Regions from separate parts of the Homo sapiens genome. Here regions 1 and 2 are each linked to region 3. The links are contacts of gene promoters, found by promoter capture Hi-C in blood cells and fetal thymus (Javierre and others, 2016). All regions are on one chromosome and are shown on one strand. The core of a region is centred on a gene start or on the middle of the fragment in contact, and the rest is flanking DNA. Distances in the headings are between cores, read along the strand shown. Region 1 overlaps SLC26A9 (solute carrier family 26 member 9). Region 2 holds the start of SLC26A9 (solute carrier family 26 member 9). Region 3 holds the start of CTSE (cathepsin E).

Region 1 (4,216 bases), core at 1,154-3,653, 110 kb before region 3:
TTAGAAAAAAAGTCTAAAACTCCTATGAGAGGGATGCTAATTGCTTATTTACCCAAATCCCACAGCTCAGCTGAATAGCAGGTAAAGCAAGATTAGTTTATCTTAAATAAATATCATTTTGGGACTCATTGACTTCTCTGCCTCTGCAACGTATCCTCTTCCTTCAACTGTTTCTCCTTCTTCTAGTTCTCCCCATCTTTTTTTTTTTTTTTTTTTTTTTTAAGAGATGGGGTCGCACTATGGGTTGGCCAGACTGGTGTTGAACTCCTGGCTTCAAGCAATCCTTTAAATCTCCAGAGTTTTGGGATTACAGGTGTGAGCCACTGTGCCTGGCCCTGTGTATCTCCATACCAATGACCATTCATCTCCCTTCCCTCTTTGTTTTGTCTAATCTCTGGTCCTTCATCTCTTTCCACTTCATCCTCTTTCTGTCTCCTTTATGCCTTTGCTTTTTGTTTTTCGTGATTCCTCTTATCTTCTTCCCTTTCTGATTGCTGGTAAACACAGTTGACAGTCAACCTAGCTTGTATGACACTTGAATCCCATGGCTTTGCTCTCCTTGCATTGTCTCACAAACAGGGGAGCGAAAGGTGGGATTAGATTGTGTGCTGCCCCACACTAAGGATTCTGAAGGGTTTGCTAAGTAACGATGGGATCCCATGAATGTGAAAGAATTAGTGAGTGAAAGGTATGCAGAGGGATGATGGGGCTTTGACATCCCCTATAGCCACAAAAATCCAGAGTTGGCTCTAGATACTCGTCCTGGGTGTGTGGACCCCTCAGCCCAATCTTCTCTCCCCAGTTTCTGTTCTTTAGCTGGATTGTGGAAGTTTATGCATTCCCAGGATGGAAAATCGAACCTGGAGAGGAGCTGGGAGACCTACAGAGAAATCTGAGTCCTCGTTGCTTCCCCCGCCCGGGATAATGCAAAGCAAGGCCAGGTCTCTGTGGAGGTGACTTGTTTTGCTTTTCTATAAAACCACCCAAACATGTGCATTTGTTCACAATTCAAATCCAGTTTATTACCAAAATGAACAAAAGGAGAATGAGGCTTAAATTAAATAAATTATGCAAATATCTCAAGAGATAAGGTTCCCAGTCCTCCCTGGGAATTATATTATCACAGGTCAGTATCACTAAGAACATTCAAAAGCATTGAAATTCTGGATTATTTCACTACTTTGCCTCCATCTTTCCTGCTTCAACCAGGTCCAGAAGAGTGTTCTTTTCCAAATATTCCAGCAGAGATGTTTTCTTCAATGTCTTCCCTCTGCCTCATGTGTTTCCAATCTTACCTCCACAGCGGGCTCTGCAACCCTCAGACATGTGGCAGATCTCTCCCTGAGCCTCAACTCCAGGTCACTGGGTCAACAATCTCCTTCAGTTCTGAGGCTGGTCTGGGGGTTAATGATTACTTGGGGGTTAAGGATCACTTCATCAAGTCCTCAGGGGATCTAGATACTTGGTTCAAAGGGGACTCTGACTTGGAAATTCCTGAGGCTCTGTGACCTTCTCCCACCTCCTGGGCCTGAGCTGGACTTGGAAGGAGGTGGAGTAGGGGAGAGTGAGTTGTCATTGGCTAAGGCTCTTGTCCTCCTGGAATTTGGCACTTCGGGTGCTGGGCACGGTGAATCCCAGATAACATTGTCCTTCGCCTTCCAAGTTTTGAGTTCCATTGGCAGCCAGATGGCATAATGAATTCACAGAAAAGCAATGCTCCTGGGCCAAGAATGTGTTGGCTCTTGGCCAGCACCCCCTCCTTTAACTCTAAGAAGACTTGTTAGCTGACCAGCTCACTCAACACACAGACACACAACGCAGGTCTGGCTGAAGTTAGAAATGGGGATGTTTTCCTAGGCTGGGCCAGCCCAACCTGTTAGGGAAGGGGTTGTTAAGCTGAAGAAGCTTGAGAAAAGCAGTGATGAGAGGCCAGAAGATTTTCTGTGCATTTCCACTGAAATTTTACAAAACACTTACACATGGAACCTATTTATTTTCAAGTCAACAGTAGGGTTCCTCTCAATACCTCCTTGTACATATGGAAAACTTAACCCCTATTTTCATCTTCATAGGAGAAGATGGCCTGAGGTCCTAAGGGTGTTAAAGAGTCTTCCTGTGCAGGAAGACCCAATCTGGATCAGCCCCTTTCCACATCTGCATGCAGTTAGGGGATGTAGCGGATCCCTGGAGGACTTCCACCTTTGCCTACAGAAGGACCCCATTGTGTCTCTGGGCCACAGGCTGATAAGGAAGAGTTAACATGATTGGCTCTTTGCCAGGTAAAGAAGGATAAGGCAGATTTACCAAAGGGAGGCATTTCCCTGATGGGCCCTGGGGTCAAGGGGGACTGTCTGGGCCCAGGTCCCATCCGTTTTCCCTGTGTTGGTACTAGCACCCTCTTCCCCTCTGAGTCTCTGGGTGCAAAGAGGAATTCCCAAAAGTTTTGTGCAGAATAACTGGTATCTATTACTAGGATGCCAGATGATTCTGCCAGCTACCCATCCCCCTCTTTGGGGTTTCTAGCCAGCCTCCAGGGGAAGGGAGCAGCCTCTGAGGGCAGTGATGTTTCAGGAGGCTGAGGCAGAACCTTAGTGGGCTGTCCCCGGGGAGGTAGCTCTGGTGGTCTCGACGGTCCTGGCCACTGTCCAGGCTAGAGTCTGATGTGCTTGCTGACAGCAGTGGTGGTTTGGGCAGCCTTGGGGATGATGGAGGGGGGGCGCATAGTTACCAAGGCCTAGACTCCTGGGTGTGGAGAGCACATGGTCCCTGGGTGCAGAGCTGCCAGAGACAGAGTTGAGGCAGCTGGGGAAGGCAAGCCAGAGTCCTAACCAAGTTTATCCCTATGTCCGTGACAGCCTGACACCATCTGACACCGAGCCGTGTGGGCTCTGGGACACTTTTTGAAGCTTGTACAGCAGGCCAGCACAGTTGTACTTGTCCTTCTGTTTTTGGCTCACTCGTAAAAGCTGGAAGTCAAGGTGTCCTTCAGCTGCCAAGGACAGGGCAGAGGTGGGTGGGGTGGAGTGAGCAGGAGGCTTGTCCATTGCGGCCAGGGCCTGACGGGTGAAGAGTGGGCTCACCAGACTCTCACTCCTGTAAGGGTAGCACCCCCCTGCTGCTGAGAGGCTCTCTCTGGAGATGCGGGGAGGGAAGGAAGGGAGGAGAGAGGGGGAGAGGAGAGAGGAACCCAAGCTCTGGGGGATGCACTTTCCTCCGCCCGACACCCCCTGTGACCCCAGGCTCATCCTTTATGGAAGTCCCAAGTGCCAGGCACTCTGTAGGCAGCATGAGGACTGGCTGAGCCCTCACAGGGCGGTCAGGGTCTCTGCGTGAAACATGCTCCCGAACATCTCCTGCAGGAACCACAGGAAGGAAGTGGGAGGGGAAGAGAGAGGTTAGACCAGTTGGGGTCACAGTGGCTGCAACCAAGAGGTGACCCTAGGAACCCCTGGCCAGAACAAAGCACCTGTGTGTGTGTGTGTGTGTGTGTGTGTGTGCGAGAGTGTGTGTGAACAGGGGAGAGGCAGGGTCAGCCTAGGAGGTGAACCAGTCCAGCGTGGCAGGAGCAGGTGCTGAAATCTACATGTGAATCACCTCCTGTGTGCTGTGTGACCTTCCACGTGTCCCTCGCCCCCTAATAGCTTCACTTTCCTCATTGGGTAAAATGAGGGTTGGCAGTAGACAAGCTCTGAAGTCCTTTCTCACGTTGATAAGCTATTTTGGTCCTATCCAGGCTTTTTGGAATGTGCTGGAGATTCCAAGAGGGCACCGAAATCAGTCTGCCAAATCTCTGTGGCTCCAGCTCTATTTTCTAATCTGTCCCACCTGCCATCAGCACTGTGAGAGACGGATTCAGAGCACCATGGAGCTCAATGTCAAAAAGAATGGGAAGAGGCACAAAGAGAGACACTACTTCTCATAGACCCAAAGCCAGATTTCTCCAAACCTAGTCATCTGGTTTCTTTTAATTCAGGGCATTGGTGGGGTGGTGTTAATCCAGGGGCCCTATGGGGATGGTGATCCCTCATATCCACATATCTTTTAGGTTTTGTTTTGTTTGTTTTTGAGACAGTCTAGCTCTGTCACCCAAGCTGGAGTGCAGTGGCACGATCTCGGCTCACTGCAACATCTGCCTCCCAGGTTCAAGTGATTCTCATGCCTCAGACTTCCGAGTAGCTGGGACTACAGGCATGCACCACTACGCCTGGCTAATTTT
Region 2 (4,029 bases), core at 1,035-3,534, 82 kb before region 3:
GAAACAAAAGGGTGACCCTGCCCCTCCTCCACTGTGCAGGGAAGGGGGGCAGGTCCTAAAGAGCTGGAGGGACTTAGAGGGGGTCTGTAGGGTTTAAGGGGAGTAGGGGGTGAGCCAGGAGAGCAGAGGGCAGGAGATGTGGGTGCATGGGCCACTCCCATGCACTGGCAGGAGAGTGGGTCAAATCTGGAGCAGAGGGGATGCAGGGGTCGTGCGAGCCGGAGTAGCTGGGAGAGGGGAAGCAAAGAGAAAATAGACCCTGCAGGGAGGGCACAGGCTGGAGCAGATTCCCTCTTGAGATTCTCCAGGATTTCTCCTCCAATGAGCTCATGCCAAAGCACGCCCCTGGTACCTTCTCCCAGTCACATTTCTAACCAGGTCTCTGTCAACACCATCCAAATATTGTAGGCAGAGATGGGCTTGGGCAGAGATGGGCTCAGGCAGAGACAGTGCCCGAGTGGATGCACTGAAAGGCTCGGAACGGCACCTGGCCATGGGAAGCATGCAATAAACTCCAACTATCATCATTACTGCTATGACTCCAGAGGAGCCTCTTTCTTGCTCTGCCATCTCTAGTGGGCACTCTGCCTTTTTTTGGCTTGCCTTTTTCCATCTGCCCCTATACCTGCTGCCCCATGCCTTAACCCCTCCAAATTTTCCCAGGACTTGATGAGAGGAACAGCAGAAAATCTTGTCAGAAGAGGGTAGAACATCTGCAGAGCAGGACTGTGAGGGGTCCATTTGTGGGTTTTGGTTGGATCTGGAGGTGATCCTGTCACTGTGGGCCAGGCTGACTTCCTCCCTCAGTCCTGTCGGGGGTGTGCATGTGAGGGAGGGGGTTTTTGACGCATGTGTGCCAGGTACGGGAACAGCCCCGGCTGGGCCAACCCACCCTGGCATCCTTATCACTGGTTCCTAGCCAGCCGGTTGCTGTGTTCTGGGAAGAGGAAAGGTCACCTTGAGGTTTCCCCTTTGCTCTAGCTGCTGGTTGCCTCCCTGCCTCATCCAGGGTGGGGGCCACAGGGTAAGAGCAGCCTCTGAGTGACCCAGGTGTGAATGTGAGCTGGGACAGACAAGCTGGCTGGGGTCTCAGTGGGAGACCACATCCATGGCAGGAGGAGGAAGGATGTAGAGGCCTCTGCACCCCTAAGGCTTTTTTGTTTGTTTGTTTTGTTTTTTTGTTTTTGTTTTTTGAGGTGGAGTCTCCCTCTGTCACCCAGGCTGGAGTGCAGTGGCACGATCTTGGCTCACCACAGGGTGCACTTCCTGGGTTCAAGCAATTCTCCTGCCTCAGCCTCCCTAGGAGCTGGGATTACTGGTGCGCGCCATGACACCCAGCTAATATTTTTTATATTTTTAGTAGAGACGGGGTTTCGCCATGTTGGCCAGCCTGGTCTCGAACTCCTGACCTCAAGTGATCTGCCCTCCTTGGCCTCCCAAAGTGCTGAGATTACAGGCTGAGCCACTGCGCCCAGCCCCCCAAGGCATTTTTAAACACTCCTTTTCCTTCTACTGTCCCTGTGTTTCCAGGGCAAATCTCTCCCTACTCCTCACCCCAGCCTAATTTCCTCCTCAGTGTAGGGGAGGATGAGATGTCCCTAAGGTGTCTTAGAGACTGCATCCCGTGTAGGAGAGAGATTCACTGATACCACCCCCCAAATCCCCACTCCTTATCTCCAGGCGAACTCTCCCTCCTCTGCACTTTCCCTGCTGGGAATGGGTGCTGGGCTGAGGAAATAGGCTCCAGAAAGAGGGACCAAGGCTAGACTTTGAGAATCACTTCCTAACAGCAAGACTGACAAGGTCATGGGCTCCCTGGAATGGGCACTTGAGGTTAAATTCCTAGAAGTCTTTAAGGAGACTGGGGTTGCTTTCACTTGGAAGCAGGGCCTGGGCAAGGAGACCAGTGAAGGGCCCAGCTGCTCTGGTCCCAGAAATCCAGGCGAAAGCCCAGAGAGGCATCCAGTGAAGATCAACTCCCCTTGAAGGGGTGGCTCTGCCCCTTCCATCTTCCAAGTAGTGACCCCACAGCCCCCAAAGCTTGGTCAGTGTTGAGCTGGTCCTCGATTCCCCCAGCAAGTTCACGGGGGTCAGTCTGGCTGTTTAGTACGGTTTAAGAGGCACTCTTGAATACTGGGTATATGCCAATCTCCGGAAGACTCTGGGCATTAAAAGATAAAGAGGAGTCCGTCTCTGCCCCAGGGTTTATACAAATGAGACTCAGAGAGCAGGTGGCTAGCTCTGGGAAGTGCCTGGGAAGGCCTTCCTGGCAGTGGAGGTGCTCTTGGCCATGCTGGTCTCCATGCTGCCCAAGCAGGGTCTTGCCAGGTTCTGGATGCCAGGGCCAGGATGAGGGAGGTGGGGGAGGACTGTGGGGTTCTGAGAAAGGGTCATCTGCATGAGTGAAGCCACTCAGGGGGAAAGCCCTCTCTCAGTCTGCCCACTTGGGGGGCTGCGTCACTCCAGGGTCTTCTGGTCCTCAGACCCGTGGGGCCAAGTGTAAGGGGGCAGTTGATGCTGGAATAATAGAAGCTTTGTTAGGTCTCAGCTGGGGACCCTCTGGGCTGGTTTTGAGGAATGGGGGCACTGCCTGAGAGTGGCTTGGAACCCCTTGGAGCTGCAGGATGAGGGGTTTGGAGGCTGAGAGCCTGGAGAGCTGGCTGCCCATCCACTGTCCTGGCCCAAGCCCTTCTGTGTTGAAGCATTCACCATTGAGTCGGGCGTCCCAGGTCCAGCTACCGCCCACCCGCCTGCCTGATGGAGCTGGTCCCTTGCTCACCCTCTCCCACTCCTCAGTTTCCTCCCCCTCCACCTCTTCCAACTTCTCAGGACTAATGGGGACACATGGGATTCTGTGTAGTCCATGCTAAGTTCCCCGAGCTGGTGGAGAAGTACATGAGTGAAGGAGGATGTCTGGGCGGTAGAAGGAGGGGGAGACAGCCATGCAGAGTAGGCTGGTGAGTCAAGCATTAAGAGCTTTTCCCTCCAAGACTTGAAAAGAAAGGGAGAGGAGCAGCCCACAGCTTCAAAGGCTGTCGCGGAGGAAGGTCTAACATTTTCCTTTCCCTCGGAGGCCTTTGCCTCGCTCTGTTTCGGGGTCTGGCGACCACCACACCCTCACCCTACTTGCTCCCTCAGTCAAGCCCAGCCTTGCAGCCCAGGTCCTTACATAGACGTGAAGACCCAAAGGGCTCCTCAGAGGGGAAGGGCTGGGAGGCTGCTCTCAGACTCCAGGGGCCAGAGTGTCCTTCCTACTTGTGCTCAGCTTGGCAGTTGGTTCCTGTCATCCCTCCTCTCGGTACCCCTGGTGACTGCCCTCTTGCAGGGATGACCCCAGCCCAGTGGGGTGGGCTGGGCTGGGTGGGGCTTACCAGTGGGTGAGCAAAGCCGGCTGGGCAGGGCTGCAGGTGTGTCTGGGGAGCGGGCAGCCGAAAGGTGTTCCTGAGGTGTGTGAAAGGGCTCTGCTCAAATAATCCAGGGAGGCGTTTATAAATAACTTTTCCTCAGGGCCACGGGGTGAGCCCCGGCTTCTGATTGGCTCAGAGGGGAAGTGGTTTTGAACACTACACCATAGCTAAGCCTGAGGAGATAGGAAAAGGAGATAAGGGGGAAAAGGTCCCAAATGAACAGCCCTTTTTTTGTTTTACCTGGGGAGCAGGGCTGTGTGATGGGAGCTTGGCACTTCCTAAATCCACCCCGAAGACAATAGGTCACATTCAGCGGGGCTCCTGCCCCACCGGCTCCCCCAAGGCGGCCCTGGAGGAGGGGGACGAGGCAGAGGAGGGGGACAAGGCAGGACAAGCTCCTCTGAGCTTGCTGTCCTGCTGCTTATGGGGCTGGGGGTCAGGCCAAAGAGCCTCTTGGACAATGGGAGCTATTGAGGCCACCTGAGGGGTGTGCTCTTGGGGATGCTTGCTTTGAAGATTGGAGATCTAGGGGGTGGGAAGACAGTAGTCCTCTGAACACCCCTGAGGAAGGGGAAGAACCATGTCTGGGAGGCCCTGGGAGCCTTTAGGCGGTTTTGGTTTG
Region 3 (3,789 bases), core at 981-3,480:
CTGAGTTACCTCTGGACAAATGGACCCACCCATGCCATTGTGCCCCACCAGCCCCACCTGTGTGCACCAGGAGATAAGGCTACCAAGCCTCCTTGAAACAAGCAGACTATCTACACTAGAACCCGACTCACCTCCCTGCTCAGAAATAACCAATTAAATTAAACTTCCCCTACATTCCTTTGGGTGTTCCAAAGGAAGTGAGTCATTATGTCAAAGATTTCTCTTTTCAATGGCTTTCTTTCTATTAATTCTGATCAGTATGAAAGTTACTCTCTTGGACAGCAGCCACATTTTAGTTCTTCCTTGGCTTTGCTCTATCTCTGCTATAAGCAGTTCCACGGCTGACTCAAAGATGGAGAGTGGAAGCTGGTGTGGCAGGGATGGCCAGTTTCTGGAACCTAAGCCCCCCTTCCCCAGAGTACCAGGCTTGGCCTCCCAGGACTAGCCCCCAGACATTCTCTGCTGGTGCTCCTGGCCCCACTTACTGCAGGCTGGGCTAGTGCAGTACACAGAGGGGACCCAGAGGTTGGAGGAGCCAGTGTCGAAGATGACAGTGAAGTTCTGTGGTGGGGAGCCAATGGAGATAGTGCCGAAGTATTCCATCTGCAAGGAAGAGTGAGAAGGAAAGAGGGTGTGGGTGGTGGGGAGGGACAAGGGTGCTCACCAGGAAGCCAGGGGAAAGCTCCCAGGGGCCAGAGCCTGGGGTAATACAGACTGGAGTTTACAGAGCCTAGGAAGTGGCAACGCTGGAAAATAAAAGGTAAAAGGAGCAGAGAAATGGCCATGAAGGAGGAAATCAAACCAAGCCTCTGGCTACTTCATTTGATTTTACTTGCACTAACCTGATTCTTATAAATACATTGTAGGAGAGGCAGTGGAGGAAGAACCATCTGTTTTACAGACCAGGGAACTGGGGCTGGGAGAGGTTAAGTAACTTGCCTAAGGGTACACAGCCAGTAAGCTGCCCAGCTGAGAGCAGAAGCAGGGGCCTTCAGTGTGGGATGATGCTTTCACTCCCAGCCCTTTCCTTCTGCAGAGAACTCTGACATTTGGGTACATGGGGGCCTGCTTAGCCAACTCCATGGGGACCCAGGGAATCAGTCCCCATGGATCATCATCCAAGTGAAGAAATCCACAATGGCCTTCGGTGCTACTGATGTGGCACTGGCCATGCCCTAATGCTGGGCCTTCCTCCCGCTCCCACCTCTCCCCAGCCCTGACCCCAGGAGGCCTCACATCCAAGTAGTTGATGAGGGGTTCCTTGGCACTCTGGTCCATTGAGCAGGACTCGGTGAACTGGATCATGTCCAAATTATGGGATTTCCAGAACTCAGAGAGCTGGCTCCGTGCCCGCAGCTTCTTCTTGAGGGACGGATGCCTCCTGAGGGGCACCCTGGAGACAAACCCCCATGTAAGCAGGAGATGTACTTCTGCCTCCCTCTTCCCCCCATTCTCGTCCCATTTTCTCAGGGGCCAACTAGAGAAGATGGGGTGGGAGGGGGGGATCTGCAAGACAGCACGCAGGATACAGGTGGGATCAGCGTCCTCTCTGCCACTCAGCCTGCCCGGCCTCATCTCTGCCCTATAGAGTCTTAGAATCTTAGAGTGGAAATGGCTCCCCTCCTGGAGCTGAGGTCTTTGAGATCTAGGAAAATGGGAGATGTGGGGCGGTCTACAGTTTTACATGAACATCACGAAGGGCTGATTTAAAGGGACAGAAAAACTCTTGGGGACAGTGATGGTCAGTCCCCTGGGGAAGTCCTGGGGCGCTTTGAGCTACAAACCACAACTGCAGGTTCCTGCTCTTTTGCAACACAAGAAGACCCCTGGGACTTGGGAAGGCACCTCCGTGGAGGTGGAGGCAGGAGGATGACTTGTTGAGGACTGGAGATTAAGGCCATACACAGGCGGTCACTGGATGAGTCTCTTCCATGCATTGACGCAAGCCCTCAGCTTCTCCTCCTCTTCACCTCCCCATCAGCTTTCCTACCCCAGAGCAGCCCTGAGTTGCAGGGCATGGGACTACCCAGCTGAACACAGTGCGGGGACGTCTTCTCACCTGTGAAGGGATCCTTGGGCCTCTCCCAGCTCCAGGAGCACCAGCAGCAAAAGAAGGAGCGTTTTCATTGTGAGTCCGACCAGCAGCTTCTCCCTTGCCCCCTCCTTTCTTCTCTCCCCGAGGGCAGTGGGAACGGACTTTCCCTAACTCTCAGACCTGCCCAGCCCAGTCTGAGGGCCGAATGATAAGGCCCTGGAGTCATTAGCCATGCCCAGAGTAAATACGGCATGTGGAACAGGGCGTTCCCCCTGCACCTCTCCGTCCCTTTCCCACCTACAAGAGGAATATGAGTCTGCGGGGAGAACTTGGGAGTCCTCTGGGGCTTGGCTTCTCTCAGGGCTTTGGCACCTCCTCTGACCCCAAGAAACCCTGTTAATGAATCCGGAGGGCAGCACATGCCTGGCTGCCTGGAAAGGCCCACTGAACTCTTACTGCAAGTGCTCTAGCTGGAGACTCTGGAGGGGTGGGAGCTGACTTGTCATGGGTGGCAGGATTCTAACTCAAAATATTCGTCAGTCTGTTTTCTGGGTGATTCCTGTTCTCTCCTCAATCTCTCAAATGCTCCAAAGGCAGTTTATCCTTCCCTGGCCCACTTTGAAGCACAAACCAGCACTCCTCAAAGGCCCTGAAATGGGAAAATGTAGCTGCAGATTTATGGAGCCCACTCTCCTGACTCTAAGGACTTGATGAATCTGGGGCTGGGGCTCAGGGGTGTGTGGAGGAGAATGCAGGGGCAGCGAGGGAGGGTCAAGGGGGTCAGCGTCTACAGCAAGTGCCCGCATGAGTCTACTAAAGCGGCCATGACAAAGTACAGGGGGCTTAAACAACAGAAATTTATTTTCTCACTATTCTGGAGGCTGGAAGTCCAAGATCAAGGTGTTGGCAGACTTGGTTGCTTCGGAGGCCTCTCTCCTTGGCTTGCAGATGGCTGCCTTCTCTCTGTGTCTTCACATGGGTCTTCCCTCAGCGTGTGGCTGTGTCCACATCCACATTTCCTCTTCTTATAAGGACGCTAGTCATATTGGAGTAGGGCCCACCCTAATGACTGCGTTTACCCTTAATACCTCTTTAAAGACCCTATCTCCAAATACAGTCACGTTCTGAGGTACTAGGTGTTAGGACATCAACATGGATTTTGGAGGACAAAGTTCAGCCCTTAACAGTGCTCAGGGACAATAGGATCTTCTATCTGTCAAGTGGGACTAAGCGCAGGGGTGGAGAGTGGGTGGGGCTCAGGCCTTAGTTACCGCAGTGTGTGAAACCCCCTCACCATCAGCCTATCTCTGTGGCCACCCGCCTCATAAACAGATGGTGGGGCTTCAGTGCCTGGGGTGGGGATGAAGGGGTTACAGGTAGGAAGACCCTGACCCTGACTCAAGTTAGCCAGGGCAGCAGAGGCCACCACCATATGCCAATGCTTCCAGAGGGCACTAGCTCAGCAGTAGGAAGTAGATGGCCTGCGTTTAGGTTTAGCTCTGCCCTGACCAGCTAGTGTTCTGGAAAATCTCTTAAGTGCTATGGGATCTGCCTTTCATCTCTGAAGTTCAAATGGCAAGCAAACGTGGAGTATGGAGCTAAGCCAAACCCACCCTTGGGTCCAAAAATGTTAAAAAAAGACATCAAAAAGACTTAAGGAACAGCCTAGACCTTTGACCCCTGAACCCAAGGCAACAAAGCCTCTTTGGCATTTCCCAGGAGCCCGTCTTGTTGATCTTTCACTGGGGAGAGTG

The links. Contacts are between HindIII fragments. The CHiCAGO score rates a contact against its expected background, and 5 or more counts as called.
Region 1: a contact is called between a fragment that was not itself captured here and the fragment with the promoter of CTSE in region 3, in 5 of 17 cell types (M0 macrophages, M2 macrophages, megakaryocytes and 2 more). The highest score is 7.3, in M0 macrophages.
Region 2: a fragment that was not itself captured here is called in contact with the fragment with the promoter of CTSE in region 3 in 3 of 17 cell types (activated CD4 T cells, naive CD8 T cells and neutrophils); the score reaches 7.0 in activated CD4 T cells.

What each region holds. Positions count from the first base shown.
Region 1 is chr1:205,912,052-205,916,267 of GRCh38, forward strand. It overlaps SLC26A9 (solute carrier family 26 member 9), which reads right to left. Exons shown (of 21, transcript NM_052934.4): 21 at 1,001-3,353. The coding sequence ends at 3,306. Among named protein-coding and RNA genes, the nearest start is that of SLC26A9-AS1, 21 kb to the right of the region's middle. The HindIII fragment of the contact is 1,001 bases long and covers 1,904-2,904 here.
Region 2 is chr1:205,939,994-205,944,022 of GRCh38, forward strand. SLC26A9 (solute carrier family 26 member 9) reads right to left here and starts at 3,463. Exons shown (of 21, transcript NM_052934.4): 1 at 3,372-3,463. The region is part of intron 2 of SLC26A9-AS1 (SLC26A9 and RAB7B antisense RNA 1); the gene reads left to right. The HindIII fragment of the contact is 492 bases long and covers 2,039-2,530 here.
Region 3 is chr1:206,021,665-206,025,453 of GRCh38, forward strand. It overlaps CTSE (cathepsin E), which reads right to left and starts at 2,231. Exons shown (of 9, transcript NM_001910.4): 1 at 2,060-2,231; 2 at 1,237-1,393; 3 at 486-603. The coding sequence starts at 2,127. The HindIII fragment of the contact is 10,319 bases long and covers 1-3,789 here.